Linked DNA regions of Homo sapiens: all the other regions are linked to region 2. The links are contacts of gene promoters, found by promoter capture Hi-C in blood cells and fetal thymus (Javierre and others, 2016). All regions are on one chromosome and are shown on one strand. Each heading gives the region's core, a stretch centred on a gene start or on the middle of the fragment in contact. The rest is flanking DNA. Distances are from core to core; before and after follow the strand shown.

Region 1 (3,336 bases), core at 110-2,609, 300 kb after region 2:
ATCTATCAAGTGAACCCTGGAGGCTGGTCACATTCATAATCTTTTGTTTTTCTGGCTACATAGAGGTGATTTTGAACTACAAGATCATCTCAGCTATTCAGAGTTTAGATTTTATTTAGCCTTATTTGTTTTGCCTAGCATTTATGTATTTGAAAATATCTTGATTTTTAATCTTCTATCACCTTGGCCCTTACCTGAAGTGAACTTTGTTTGAACTCAATTGATTTCACCTCTCAATAAATATGAAATTAATCTGAAATGAATTGAATTGTTTGGCATATTTTACCTCTTCTATGTGCACTAATCTATTTCACACATTTTCAGTTTGTTTAGAGATACATGTTCCAATGTATCTGAGTAGAAACTAGTGAGATGGGAATGGATATAGCCATAATATTCCATCATTGAATTCCATGGCATTCACTCAAATGTAACTCACCTGTTTTAACAGTACCTTAATTTGGCCTGTATTTATTGGACTTGGTGTTCTTTTTGCTGTGAGAAGACGGTGAAGGTGATTCTTGAATGTTTGTTTTCTGTGTTGCATCATGTTTGTACAACACGGTAATATATTTGGACCTTGATTAAATAATGTAAGAGGGGAATTTGATCAAAAAATAAAATGCACAAGACTGTTAAAACAATGTCTAATTCTATCCATGCAAAAATGGAGTAGAATCCTAAAATGCTTATGACAACTACTTGATTGCTTCTAGTCCCTCTTTTAAATACTTTAATTTACTTAGATACATGTATCATACGTACTTCTTGGCCTCAGTTTTCCTCCTAATAGCCTAATTGTTCTTTTTACTGTGCAGGCATAACTATATAACAAAGTAGGTTTTTTTTTTCATGCCATTTATGAGTCATATAATTTAGATAATTTATTGTTTATTTTACCATTATTGTTGCTAACAAACTTCGTTGTTTTGCATTGTTTGTTGGGACAATTAAATAGTGTACCTCTTGGACTAATAGATTAAATAGTTCATCAGAGATAAATTGCACTGCTGAAGCATCAAAGGAGAAAGACTGAAGTGTAGAATCTGCACTTCAATCTTTCTCCTTAATTAGCACCACCAGGGAATTTGATTCAAGTTCTAGAGGGGAGTGAACCCAGGAATTGGCTTAAAAACAAAAACATACACACAAAAAAACCAACGCTCGCAAGCAATTATTTATGCATGCGGTCCACGCACTCAGTTTGAGAAACACTGACTCGACTTAAAAGTCTTTATAATGCTCAGATTTCTGAAATGCTATTGACCTGAAAACATCTCATGAAGTTATTAGTTTGAACGCGTGGTGGCGGTACAAGCTAAGAGAGTGAATGAAAGCTCTGCAGACTCGGTGGACTCCGTTTCATCCAGAAGCCAAGTAAAAATACAGACCACGTTTACAGCTAAAGCTGAGATAGATGTGTCCGGGAAGGCAGTCGTCGCCAGACAAGTTGTAAGAACGAATTTAAAAATCTCTGCAAAGACATCCGAGAGGGTCGACGGTAGATGTGGTGATTGGGAGCTGAAAAGGATTTTTCTTCCGTATTCAGACATAATAGACATGATGCAAACTAAAGTACAGAACAAGAAAAGGCAAGTGGCTTTCTTCATTTTATTGATGCTTTGGGGAGAGGTGGGTTCTGAATCGATTCAGTATTCCGTATTGGAGGAGACAGAAAGTGGCACGTTTGTGGCCAACTTGACAAAGGACCTGGGACTGAGGGTGGGGGAGCTGGCTTCGCGGGGCGCTCGGGTTGTTTTCAAAGGGAACAGACAACATTTGCAGTTTGATCCACAGACCCATGATTTACTGCTAAATGAAAAACTGGACCGGGAGGAGCTGTGTGGCTCCACTGAGCCGTGTGTGCTACCTTTCCAAGTGTTACTGGAAAACCCCTTGCAGTTTTTTCAGGCTTCCTTGCGAGTCAGAGATATAAATGACCACGCCCCGGAATTCCCTGCCAGAGAAATGCTCCTGAAAATATCAGAAATTACTATGCCAGGAAAGATATTTCCTTTGAAAATGGCACACGATTTAGACACCGGCAGCAACGGCCTTCAGAGGTACACAATCAGCTCCAACCCTCACTTCCACGTTCTCACCCGCAATCGCAGCGAAGGCAGGAAGTTCCCGGAGCTGGTGCTAGACAAACCGTTGGACCGCGAGGAGCAGCCCCAACTCAGGCTAACGCTGATCGCGCTGGATGGCGGGTCTCCGCCCCGGTCAGGGACCTCCGAGATTCAGATCCAGGTTTTGGACATCAATGACAACGTCCCCGAGTTTGCTCAGGAGCTCTATGAAGCACAAGTCCCTGAGAACAACCCCCTCGGCTCTCTGGTTATTACCGTCTCAGCCAGAGATTTAGATGCAGGATCGTTTGGGAAGGTATCTTACGCCCTGTTTCAAGTCGATGACGTCAACCAACCCTTCGAAATAAACGCAATCACAGGAGAAATTCGGCTGAGAAAGGCTTTGGATTTTGAGGAAATTCAGTCTTATGACGTGGATGTTGAGGCTACAGATGGTGGAGGCCTATCAGGAAAATGCTCTTTAGTCGTCAGGGTCCTGGACGTGAATGACAATGCCCCTGAACTCACCATGTCGTTCTTCATCAGCCTCATCCCAGAAAACTTACCAGAGATCACAGTGGCAGTTTTCAGTGTTTCAGATGCAGACTCTGGACATAACCAACAGGTTATTTGTTCAATAGAGAACAATCTCCCCTTTCTACTAAGACCTTCCGTGGAGAATTTCTACACCCTGGTAACAGAAGGCGCGCTGGACAGAGAGAGCAGAGCCGAGTACAACATCACTATCACGGTCACTGATTTGGGGACACCAAGGCTGAAAACCCAGCAGAGCATAACTGTGCAGGTCTCCGACGTCAATGACAACGCCCCCGCCTTCACCCAAACCTCCTACACCCTGTTCGTCCGCGAGAACAACAGCCCCGCCCTGCACATCGGCAGCGTCAGCGCCACAGACAGAGACTCAGGCATCAACGCCCAGGTCACCTACTCGCTGCTGCCGCCCCAGGACCCGCACCTGCCCCTCTCTTCCCTGGTCTCCATCAACGCGGACAACGGCCACCTGTTTGCCCTCAGGTCGCTGGACTACGAGGCCCTGCAGTCTTTCGAGTTCCGCGTGGGCGCCACAGACCGCGGCTCCCCGGCGTTGAGCAGCGAGGCGCTGGTGCGCTTGCTGGTGCTGGACGCCAACGACAACTCGCCCTTCGTGTTGTACCCGCTGCAGAACGGCTCCGCGCCCTGCACCGAGCTGGTGCCCCGGGCGGCCGAGCCGGGCTACCTGGTGACCAAGGTGGTGGCGGTGGACGGC
Region 2 (3,373 bases), core at 689-3,188:
GGCTCACTGCAACCTCTGCCTCCCGGGTTCAAATGATTCTCCTTCCTCAGCCTCCCAAGTAGCTGGGATTACAGGTGCATGCCACCATGCCCTGCTAATTTTTTGTATTTTTAGTAGAGTCGGGGTTTCACCATGTTAGCCAGGATGGTCTCGATCTCCTGACCTCCTGATCCGCCCACTTCGGCCTCCTAAAGTGCTGGGATTACAGGCATGAGCCACCGCGCCCAGCCTAAAATGCTTTCTTAGCAAGTAGAGAAGATTGTAATAACCAGTCTTCATTAAACATTAAATAGGACCCTTACAGATCTCTAACAGCATATCATCATGTCAGGAATTATTACTGAGCCCCAGCCCCTGGCTTTAAAATTTGAGGTCAAATAAAGAATATGAGTCACACAATGCAAGGCAAGATAATGTAACAGGTACAAGAGGTAAATCAGAATGACGTTGAAGTTGAAAGACAATCATTTCCTATTTGAATTTTTGAAGAAATACTTGAAGGGGCATGGTGTGTTTCAGTGGTTTTAAAATAAGTAAGTTCCCCCCGGGAGAATATTGAGAATGATAGACATTTCTTGGAAAGAGAAAACATAAGGAAAGTTGAAGACACAGAAAGCATCAATATGACAAGTAGAAAAGTCCACTTTGGTTAAAACACACAGTCTGCAGAGAATGAAAGCAGGAAAACCAATGTAAGAAGATCTCTTGATTTCTGAGTAATAAACTAAAGGGCCATGAGTGATTAAGGAATTTGGCCACTCTTTAGAATTAATTGGGAGCTATTTAACTACCTTGAGCAAAATAAATCACGACTTTTGAAAGAAGGTTGAACGGGAAGACAAACTCAGAAGCTCCTGCAGTAATCAAGGACAGAAGCAATTGTTAAATGCACCTCTTAGGCTGTTATCAGTAGAAATACGAAATAAAAGATAAATATGCAAAAACATTAATGGCACAATAAACACTCACGGTTTTGCCTTTAGACTTGAGATACACTAAAATCTAGATTTAATTAATCGACTTGGACGTTGGAATAAGATAGTAAAACTCACAACAAAACTTTGTAGAACTTAGTCAGGAAAAGAATCTCAAGCATAGCTTTAAAAACAGAAATTGCCCCGAGTACTAAGGATGAGCAATAATGAAATTAAAACATATTGTAATAACATTACACAAACTATATTGGAGACTACAAAGAAGAGATTATTCATAGATTATAAAGCTTGGAAAGAATCAAAACAACACATTTCTGGAAACAGATTGTATAAATGCTACAAAAGAGAAAAATATATTTTCTCCCCACGCAACACAAGACCTTAAAGTCAATTCTCGCTTTTCTTGCAATATTTTATACCTTTTCAATTCATAGAATTACTCAAGAAAACTACCTCAGTTGGTTGCTACTTTTTGTTGATTCCTTTTACCAGACATGACTAAGTTTCTTTTTCATCAGTAGATTTCTGGGCTCCTATATTCACTAGAGATTGCAACTCCTGGATTTCTCTTACACTAGAATCCTATTTCGAGCCATATGGGAGATTCTGAATTCCAGAACAAAAGAATTTTGTAATTTAAAATTCGTGATTGCTCAATGGAATCATTTTAATTGTTACTTCATTTCTGTCGTTATTTAAAACTTAAGTGGAGAGTTTTCTCAGGGATAAGAAAACCACAATCAAGGTCATACAAAACTTTTAGAGGCAGTCAGTCTGCTAAGAAGGCTCCAGCAAGAGAAACGGGATCTTCTGTTTCAACAATCATTACTTAAGAAAAAATTAAGAAAATGAAATAAGTTTTGCAGAATAACTGTGAAATTTTTATTCATGAAATATGTACTTACACTTTGGGCCACGTGATGTCACTCTTTGCCGCGATGTTCTCTCTGAATCCAGACAAATACAGCCCTTTTCCCATGGGAAAGAGGCTCAATTCTTTTTCACTCTCTCTGTGCTGAACGATGGCGAACACAGCAGAATGGGACTGACGAAATCAGATGATTTCTTCTAATTTGGAGGCAATTTTCACTAATTAGAAGAAGACTGAGTATTTGAAATGTTATACTCAAGTCGAGGAGATCCAGAGGGTCAGCCTCTACTGCTCTCGCTTCTGATCCTCGCAATGTGGGTGGTGGGGAGCGGCCAGCTCCACTACTCCGTCCCGGAGGAAGCCGAACACGGCACCTTCGTGGGCCGCATCGCGCAGGACCTGGGGCTGGAGCTGGCGGAGCTGGTGCCGCGCCTGTTCCAGTTGGATTCCAAAGGCCGCGGGGACCTTCTGGAGGTAAATCTGCAGAATGGCATTTTGTTTGTGAATTCTCGGATCGACCGCGAGGAGCTGTGCGGGCGGAGCGCGGAGTGCAGCATCCACCTGGAGGTGATCGTAGACAGGCCGCTGCAGGTTTTCCATGTGGACGTGGAGGTGAAGGACATTAACGACAACCCTCCAGTGTTCCCAGCGACACAAAAGAATCTGTTCATCGCGGAATCCAGGCCGCTTGACTCTCGGTTTCCACTAGAGGGCGCGTCCGATGCAGATATCGGGGAGAACGCCCTGCTCACTTACAGACTGAGCCCCAATGAGTATTTCTTCCTGGACGTGCCAACCAGCAACCAGCAGGTAAAACCTCTTGGACTTGTATTACGGAAACTTTTAGACAGAGAAGAAACTCCGGAGCTTCATTTATTGCTCACGGCCACCGATGGAGGCAAACCCGAGCTGACTGGCACCGTTCAATTACTCATCACGGTACTGGACAACAATGACAATGCCCCAGTGTTCGACAGAACCCTGTATACGGTGAAATTACCAGAAAACGTTTCTATCGGAACGCTGGTGATTCACCCCAATGCCTCAGATTTAGACGAAGGCTTGAATGGGGATATTATTTACTCCTTCTCCAGTGATGTTTCTCCAGATATAAAATCCAAGTTCCACATGGACCCCTTAAGTGGGGCAATCACAGTGATAGGACATATGGATTTTGAAGAAAGTAGAGCACACAAGATCCCAGTCGAGGCTGTCGATAAAGGCTTCCCACCCCTGGCTGGTCATTGTACACTTCTTGTGGAAGTTGTGGATGTAAATGACAATGCTCCACAGTTGACTATCAAAACGCTCTCGGTTCCTGTAAAAGAGGACGCACAACTGGGGACAGTTATTGCCCTGATTAGTGTGATCGACCTAGACGCAGATGCCAACGGGCAGGTTACCTGCTCCCTGACGCCCCACGTCCCCTTCAAGCTGGTGTCCACCTACAAGAATTACTACTCGTTGGTGCTGGACAGAGCTCTGGACCGCGAGAGTGTGTCCGCCTACGAGCTGGTGGTTACCGCGCGGGACGGGGGCTCGCCTTCACTGTGGGCCACGGCCAGGG
Region 3 (3,416 bases), core at 536-3,035, 360 kb after region 2:
TAAAATTGTTACAGTTTTTTTTTTCTTTTTGACAGAGTCTTACTCTGTCGCCCAGGTTGGAGTACAGTGGTGTGATCTCAGCTCACTGTAACCTCTGCTTCCCAGGTTCAAGTGATTCTCCTGCCTCAGCCTCCTGAATAGCTGGGATTACAGGCACCCACCACCACACCTGGCTAGTTTTGTAGCTTTAGTAGAGATGGGGTTTCACCATGTTGGCCAGGCTTGTCTTGAACTCCTGACCCCAGCTGATCCTCCTGCCTCAGCCTCCCAAAGTGTTGAGATTACAGGCGTGAGCCACAGTGCCCAGCCTACAGTTTTTTTTAAGTTAAACTAATAGTGTCCATATTGCTAAGCTTTCTTCAAAATACACATTAGTGTAGTGTGATTAAATTTCCTTTCTTGAGAAACATTTTTCCTAGAACTGAAAATTGTTTTGTACTTACATAATTTTCCATTTACTAATATTAGTTTCTTTACATTCTCTAATTTGAATCTCTTTCTTCTCAAAATATTCAAATATATCAGATACCTGTCAATTATGTTTATTTCTTGGTGATCTTGCACCCAGATCTCTACTTCATTCATACTGGTTGCTCTATAGGCTGTCACCCTAGGACTTTAAAAAATATTTTTCTTTGTTGGTCCTTTTTTATAAGATCCAGTACATTCTTCTTTCTTAGTTTACTCACTTATTTTGTTGATGCACATCTCTCAGTACCTTCATAAAAATGGATACAGAGGAAATAAAACTTTTTGAGAGCTTGCTTTGTTATTTTCTTTTTTTTTATTTGATTGATAGTTTGGGCATAACATTCTAGGTTGAAAATAATTTTCCCTCAGATTTCAAAAGCACTGCTCCTTTTATTGACTGCATATAGAATTGCTGTTCAGAAGACTGATTCCATTCTGATTCCTATGTCTTTTTATGTGATTCCCCCCCTTTTTTTCTTTCTTTCTGTGAGCATTGAAAAAAATTCCCCTGGTCTTCTGAAAATACCTTAGTACTGGCTCTTTATTGATTAATCTGGTTATATCGCTATGCCCTGTTCATGTTTAACTTTTCTTTTTTTTTTAAGATGATGTCTCACTGTGTTACCCAGGCTGGAGTGCAGTGGCTATTCACAGGCACAATCACAGCACCCTGCAAGCTCTAACTCGAGAGCTACTTCTGCCTCAGCCTTCCAAGTTGCTGGGACTACAGGCATGTGCTAGACCCCTTGGCTAATGTTCAGACTATCAATTTTATTTCTGAGAAATTTTGGTTGGGCATGGTGACTCACACCTGCAATCCCAGTACTTTGGGAAGCTGAGGCAGGATTATTTGAGGCCCCGAGTTTGAGACCACCCTGGGCAACATAGTGGGAACCTATCTCTACACAAAAACAATTTGTTAAAAGGAATTTCCTTGGTATGTTTTACTCATAATTTCTCCTCTGAGTTTTCTGGATTCTCACTTCAATGAAAATCTCAGTTAAATATTAGACCTCCTAGATTGACTCTATAAGACTATAAGCCATTTTTCCTTTCTTATTTTCTCTTTGCCTCTCATTCCATTTTTTGGACAATTTATTTAATCACTCAATGTTTTATGTATAAGTTTTTCTTTATGACTGAAAAATATTTACTTTTAAGAGTTGTTTTTGGTTCTCTGAATGTTTTTCATGGCATCCTGTCATAGATTTATAAATGTAATATTTTCTCTCATTTATAATTAATCTTTTCTTTAAAAATGCATTAGGCAGTATCATTATTATATATCCATTTTAAAAGTGAAAGTGAGTCTAAGGGGAGTTAAGAACTTGTCCAAGGTAATATAGCTAGTAAAAAGCACTGAAGTCCTAATCTAGTCTTCATCTTACAATAGGAATATGTACTTCATATAGTTACTATTTAGATTAAGTGGATAAATACATACTTCATACAGCTACTATTTAGATTAAATGGATAAATGCATTATGAGGCACTTAGAACAATGAGTAGCATAGAGTAAATACTAAATAAGTATTAGCTTTTATTAGATTTTCTTTCTCTGGGAATATTAACCAGACATTTTCAAAGGCTTTCTTCTGCTTTCTATATTATTGTTCCTTTTTTTTTTCTTGATGGTAGCGATGGTGGTAGTTTTGGTCTTTCTATGTTATGTTGCAGGCATTTCCTCAAATGCCTTGGCTATCTTCTCGTATTTTAGAAGGATGATATATCAAAATGCTGACAATCAACTCTGTGAGCGAACAGTACCTGTTGATGGCAGGGCTTCATTCTAATATAACCATGCTAGGATAAGTCTATTACCTTATGAGATGCCAAATATTAATATGTGTCTTCATTTGGGCTTTCATATTCTCCAGGTTAGAATTCTACAATATACACTATGGGGATAGACTAGGGGTCAGGCATACACTTTGTGTCCTACAGTCTAAGAGTATTGCATGAAAAGGGATTAGAAGTCTCACCATGCAAAATGCAAAGGTTTGCTTACTCTCCCTATTTTCAGTTTGACACCTCACACTTGTGCTCAGCTGTGCCTAGATCCCCAAGACTAGAGAAAGTCCCATTAAATTTCTCCAGAGAATAAACTTTCTATTTTCTGGCTGTGAGTTATGTTTCCATCTATGTAGGGTGATGAGAAGAACAGAGAATTCAATTATCCTCTACACATACTTCCAACTAATAACTTTTTTCCATCCTTAACTGACTTCAGTCTTCTTAAACATCTGGTTCCTCCAGATCTTGCGCTTAAAAGAGATTATGTTTCTTGTGAGTATCTTCAATGCAGGAACTTTACTTTAGGGGCACTTTTTGGAACTGCTAAGTTAATTGCTCTTCCACCTGCTTTCTGTCATAGAAAAATGTATGTGTTCACTTGTGTATTCTTAATCTTTGTTAGTTCCTACCATTTTAATTACTTTTCTGCCATTTTAGTGCATATTTTTTTTTAAAAAGAGAGGTTAATTGTGTGTGCTCAATTCATCTACTTTTCAAGTTTTACCCTTCTGTACCAATTACTATTTCAACCATGTATCCAGCTTACATTTTTAAGAATATTAATTGAATTTAACATTTTAAAATGCAGACTTGTTGGATTCTTCTCCCATCCATTCTTAGTGCACTTTAAGACTTTCTATAGTGAATATCACTGATGAGCCCTTAGCATCTGTTGCAAACAGTCTCCCTCATTTTGTACCAATGAGGTACTTTGGCTAGGACTGAAACCTTCCCAAGCTTAAGAGGTGGTCCCAGACAGGATTAAAACACAGTAATGGCCAGAGACAGGTCTTTAGATTCTAGGACTAAAATCTCCAACTATAATTCTATACCTCTTGAAACAATGATTGCTTCAGTGGCAGACACATGATCTTACTTGGTCTAATTAGAGTGAAAGTTAGGTTTTTGTTCTATGTTTAGGGATAGACTCT
Region 4 (3,233 bases), core at 261-2,760, 440 kb after region 2:
AACTGAAAGCAGGCATAGTCTCAATAAACAGAACATAGATTCTGCAACTGTTGCAGATTTAAGATACCTCTTTGTGGGGCCTTAATGAAAACGTCATAAATACTGGCTGGACCATCTATGGTGGTCAGATGCCCATGGGAAAGGGGTTATTCTCTGATGGAGCCATCTAAAATTGAGGTGCTGATTGGCTCTATATTTCTGATACAGAGAGATATACAGAGACTGGTTGCATTCCTAATTGCACTTTAGGACTGGGCACATCACAGTGACTGTAACCCCTCTCCCCATTCCTGACAGATCAGACTCTGGACCTCCTCTGGAGAAAGTCCCACTGCTGTAGATTTGTGTTTAGATTTCTGGATTGGTTGCAACTTGCAACAATTGACTTACAGCCTGAATCTACTTCCTTCACCTTTTTACTGGAATATTAAGACAATTTGATTGTTAAATGCAGCTGTCCCCAAAAAGGAACTGCTCTTCTCTGGGATGGTAGGCTGGCCACTGGATAAATGATTGTGACTAAAGGGATAAGAGTCTGTGTAAACTTAATTTGAAAAATCTTAGAAAATTCAGGTCATTGTGACCAATTCCTTACCATGATGTGTCTTTCTGCTTAAGTTGTGTAAAAATGTTTTTCTGTGAAAATGCTTTTTTCCCTCTTGCTTATAACCCTTCTGGATGAAAGGCCCTAGTGAGTAGGAGATGATTGAAAATATAAAGTTATAATTGTGAATGGGACACACTGATTTTGTAACAATGGAGAAACCACACCCAGCCCCTGGGAGGCACAGGGAGAGGTTAGGGTGTTAATGATTTTTGTTTTTCAGAACTGCTCCTGGAAGCTTTACCCCCTTCTTGAAGGAGAAGTCCCCATGCTGGCTTTCCAAGCTGCTGCGAGCACTCTGAATTCAAACAGATTGCTGAGCCCATGGTCACAGGTGACTATGAGACGGCAGAGGAACACTTCCAGATGTCACCCACACTTATGAGATGGATGAAGTGATATTATGCATGAACAAAACTGTTTGGAACTGACTGCCTCAGGCAGTCGTTATGAATCTAAGGACTGACCTGTGTTATTTGGACTGCACTGAGAATCCTGGAGCAGGAGGGCCCACAGTGGAAGGTTACATTAGAGGTCTTCTTAACCTTATTGCCTGACTACTGTATGTCCTGCTTGGGGTGTCCTAACAACTGTAAACTCATTGTTTCCAGGGGTACTGTGTGTGCCCTCTGGGCTTATATTTCTTTTGTGGGTACCCTGACTATCATGACACTGTCTCAGCCCTACAAGGCATTCGGATTAACTTTAACTTACTGGTCAGAGATGTGCTGTGCCTGAGTTGATGCCTTGGGCCAGATTAAAAGAAAAAAAAAGGTTAATATAAAAACTAAAGGAGAAAGACACCTGGCTTTCTAAGATAGACCTTTATGGTTAATGGGATTTTTTGTTTTGTTTTGTTTTTTGAGACAGAGTTTCACTCTTGTTGCCCAGGCTGGAGTGCAATGGCACAATCTTGGCTCACTGCAACCTCTGCCTCCTGGGTTCAAGCAATTCTCCTGCCTCAGCCTCCCGAGTAGCCGGGATTACAGGCATGTGCCACCACACCCGGCTAATTTTTTGTATTTAGTAGAGACGGGGTTTCACCATGTTGGTCAGGCTAGTCTTGAACTCCTGACCTCAGGTGATCCACTCACCTTGGCCTCCCAAAGTGCTGGGATTACAGGCGTGAACCACTGTGCCTGTTCCCAGGATTTGTTTTAATTGGCCAAATCTAGAAGCCATGGAGGACATAACTGAGGCCAATAATGTAGGCTGATCTCACCCTGCCATGTGGGATCCTATTGATAATAATCTTTTTGTAAAAAATGCCTTGGACAATGACCAAGTGGGTAGAAGAAAAGAGTTAATATAACAGACCTGAGACTACTAAGCCGTCGAAGGCCCTGCTTACAAGGTAGGCCCTTGGCTTGCATTTGGGACTTGGATTCTGAGATTGTCTGCATCATTTCATAACTGATAAAAGTGGTTTGCTGTGCCTAAACTGTATATACAAACAACGTGGCTTATGCTGAACACCTGCTTTCCTTCGGGGAATCTGGGATTTTGCTACCTACTAGGCAGAAGAGGCCCACATGACCAGTCCCCAATAAAAACCCTGGATTCCTAGGTTTAGGCAAGCTTGCCTGGTAGATAACACTTTACACCTGTTGGTGCAATTTGATGCTGGAGGATTTAATCATATTCTGTGTGACTCCAATGGGAGAGGATTCTTGGAAGTTTATACCTAGTTTCCTCCAGACTTTATCTGATATACCTTTTCCCCTAGCTGAGTTTGCCTTGTATCCCTTTACTGTAACAAATCATAGCCACGAGTATGACTACATGCTGAGTTTTGTGAGTCTTAGAAAATTACCAAACCTGGGGTCTTGGGACCCTCTGACGCCAAACCTTTGTATTTATTCTCTGACAAATAAGAGAGTAAGACACATTATAGTGGAAACCCTGAAATGTCCCTTTCCCTAGCCAAGATAGTAAATCATAAGTAATGCTGCATCCTAGGAGGATTTTTAGAGATTAACACTACCTCCTGAGGCTTAAAGTGCACAGAGGTGATAGTCCTCATCAAATTCTCATTTAATTCATTTGTTCACCCTCTGCAAAAACTAGATAGATTGTTGTGATGACAATGGACTGCAATATACTTACTTAACCAAATGGTAGCTCCAATTGCAGCTGTCATGCCAGATGTGGTATCTTTATTGGAGTAGATCAGTATAACTTTGGCAACTTGGTAGGTGGCTATTTTTCTGGTGAACGCACTTGTCTTAAATTCCACCAGGGAATAAAATCAAAAGCAGTCATCTTCTCATGATAAGAAAACAGAACACATTCAACTATCTTATTACAAAGCTATGTTAACTCTCTTGCTTTCTTTCATAATGTACTCCACAAATATTTCAACATTGAACATTCTATAGAACATAATGCTAGATCACTGCATAGATGACATGATTCTAATTGGACCCAGTGAGTAGTGAGTAGTAAGTAACAAGGACCCTAGATGGTCTAGCATGTCAAAGAGTAAAATATTAACCCTATGAATATTCAGGTGACTGTCATATCAGTAATGATTCTAGGGTTCTTGGGCATGCAAAGAAATGCCCTCTGAGATAAAATATAAGTCATTATCACTTGCATTTCTTACCATTAAGAAAGAGGCACAGTCTCT

Evidence for each region. The method cuts DNA at HindIII sites, captures the fragments that hold promoters and counts their contacts. A CHiCAGO score of 5 or more calls a contact.
Region 1: the fragment with the promoter of PCDHB6 here is called in contact with the fragment with the promoter of PCDHA9 in region 2 in 6 of 17 cell types (neutrophils, monocytes, erythroblasts and 3 more); the score reaches 8.8 in neutrophils.
Region 3: a fragment that was not itself captured here is called in contact with the fragment with the promoter of PCDHA9 in region 2 in 4 of 17 cell types (monocytes, M1 macrophages, M0 macrophages and 1 more); the score reaches 6.9 in monocytes.
Region 4: a fragment that was not itself captured here is called in contact with the fragment with the promoter of PCDHA9 in region 2 in 4 of 17 cell types (M0 macrophages, M2 macrophages, M1 macrophages and 1 more); the score reaches 7.4 in M0 macrophages.

The regions. Positions count from the first base shown.
Region 1 is chr5:141,148,698-141,152,033 of GRCh38, forward strand. It overlaps PCDHB6 (protocadherin beta 6), which reads left to right and starts at 1,360. Exons shown (of 1, transcript NM_018939.4): 1 at 1,360-3,336. The coding sequence starts at 1,561. It also overlaps PCDHB@. The HindIII fragment of the contact is 6,099 bases long and covers 1-3,336 here.
Region 2 is chr5:140,846,444-140,849,816 of GRCh38, forward strand. It overlaps PCDHA9 (protocadherin alpha 9), which reads left to right and starts at 1,939. Exons shown (of 4, transcript NM_031857.2): 1 at 1,939-3,373. The coding sequence starts at 2,053. All of the region lies in intron 1 of PCDHA1 (protocadherin alpha 1), which reads left to right. All of the region lies in intron 1 of PCDHA2 (protocadherin alpha 2), which reads left to right. All of the region lies in intron 1 of PCDHA3 (protocadherin alpha 3), which reads left to right. It also overlaps PCDHA4, PCDHA5, PCDHA6, PCDHA7, PCDHA8 and PCDHA@. The HindIII fragment of the contact is 21,410 bases long and covers 1,221-3,373 here.
Region 3 is chr5:141,204,483-141,207,898 of GRCh38, forward strand. It overlaps PCDHB@. Among named protein-coding and RNA genes, the nearest start is that of PCDHB12, 2.5 kb to the right of the region's middle. The HindIII fragment of the contact is 2,869 bases long and covers 352-3,220 here.
Region 4 is chr5:141,287,646-141,290,878 of GRCh38, forward strand. No RefSeq gene overlaps it. Among named protein-coding and RNA genes, the nearest start is that of SLC25A2, 15 kb to the right of the region's middle. The HindIII fragment of the contact is 1,340 bases long and covers 841-2,180 here.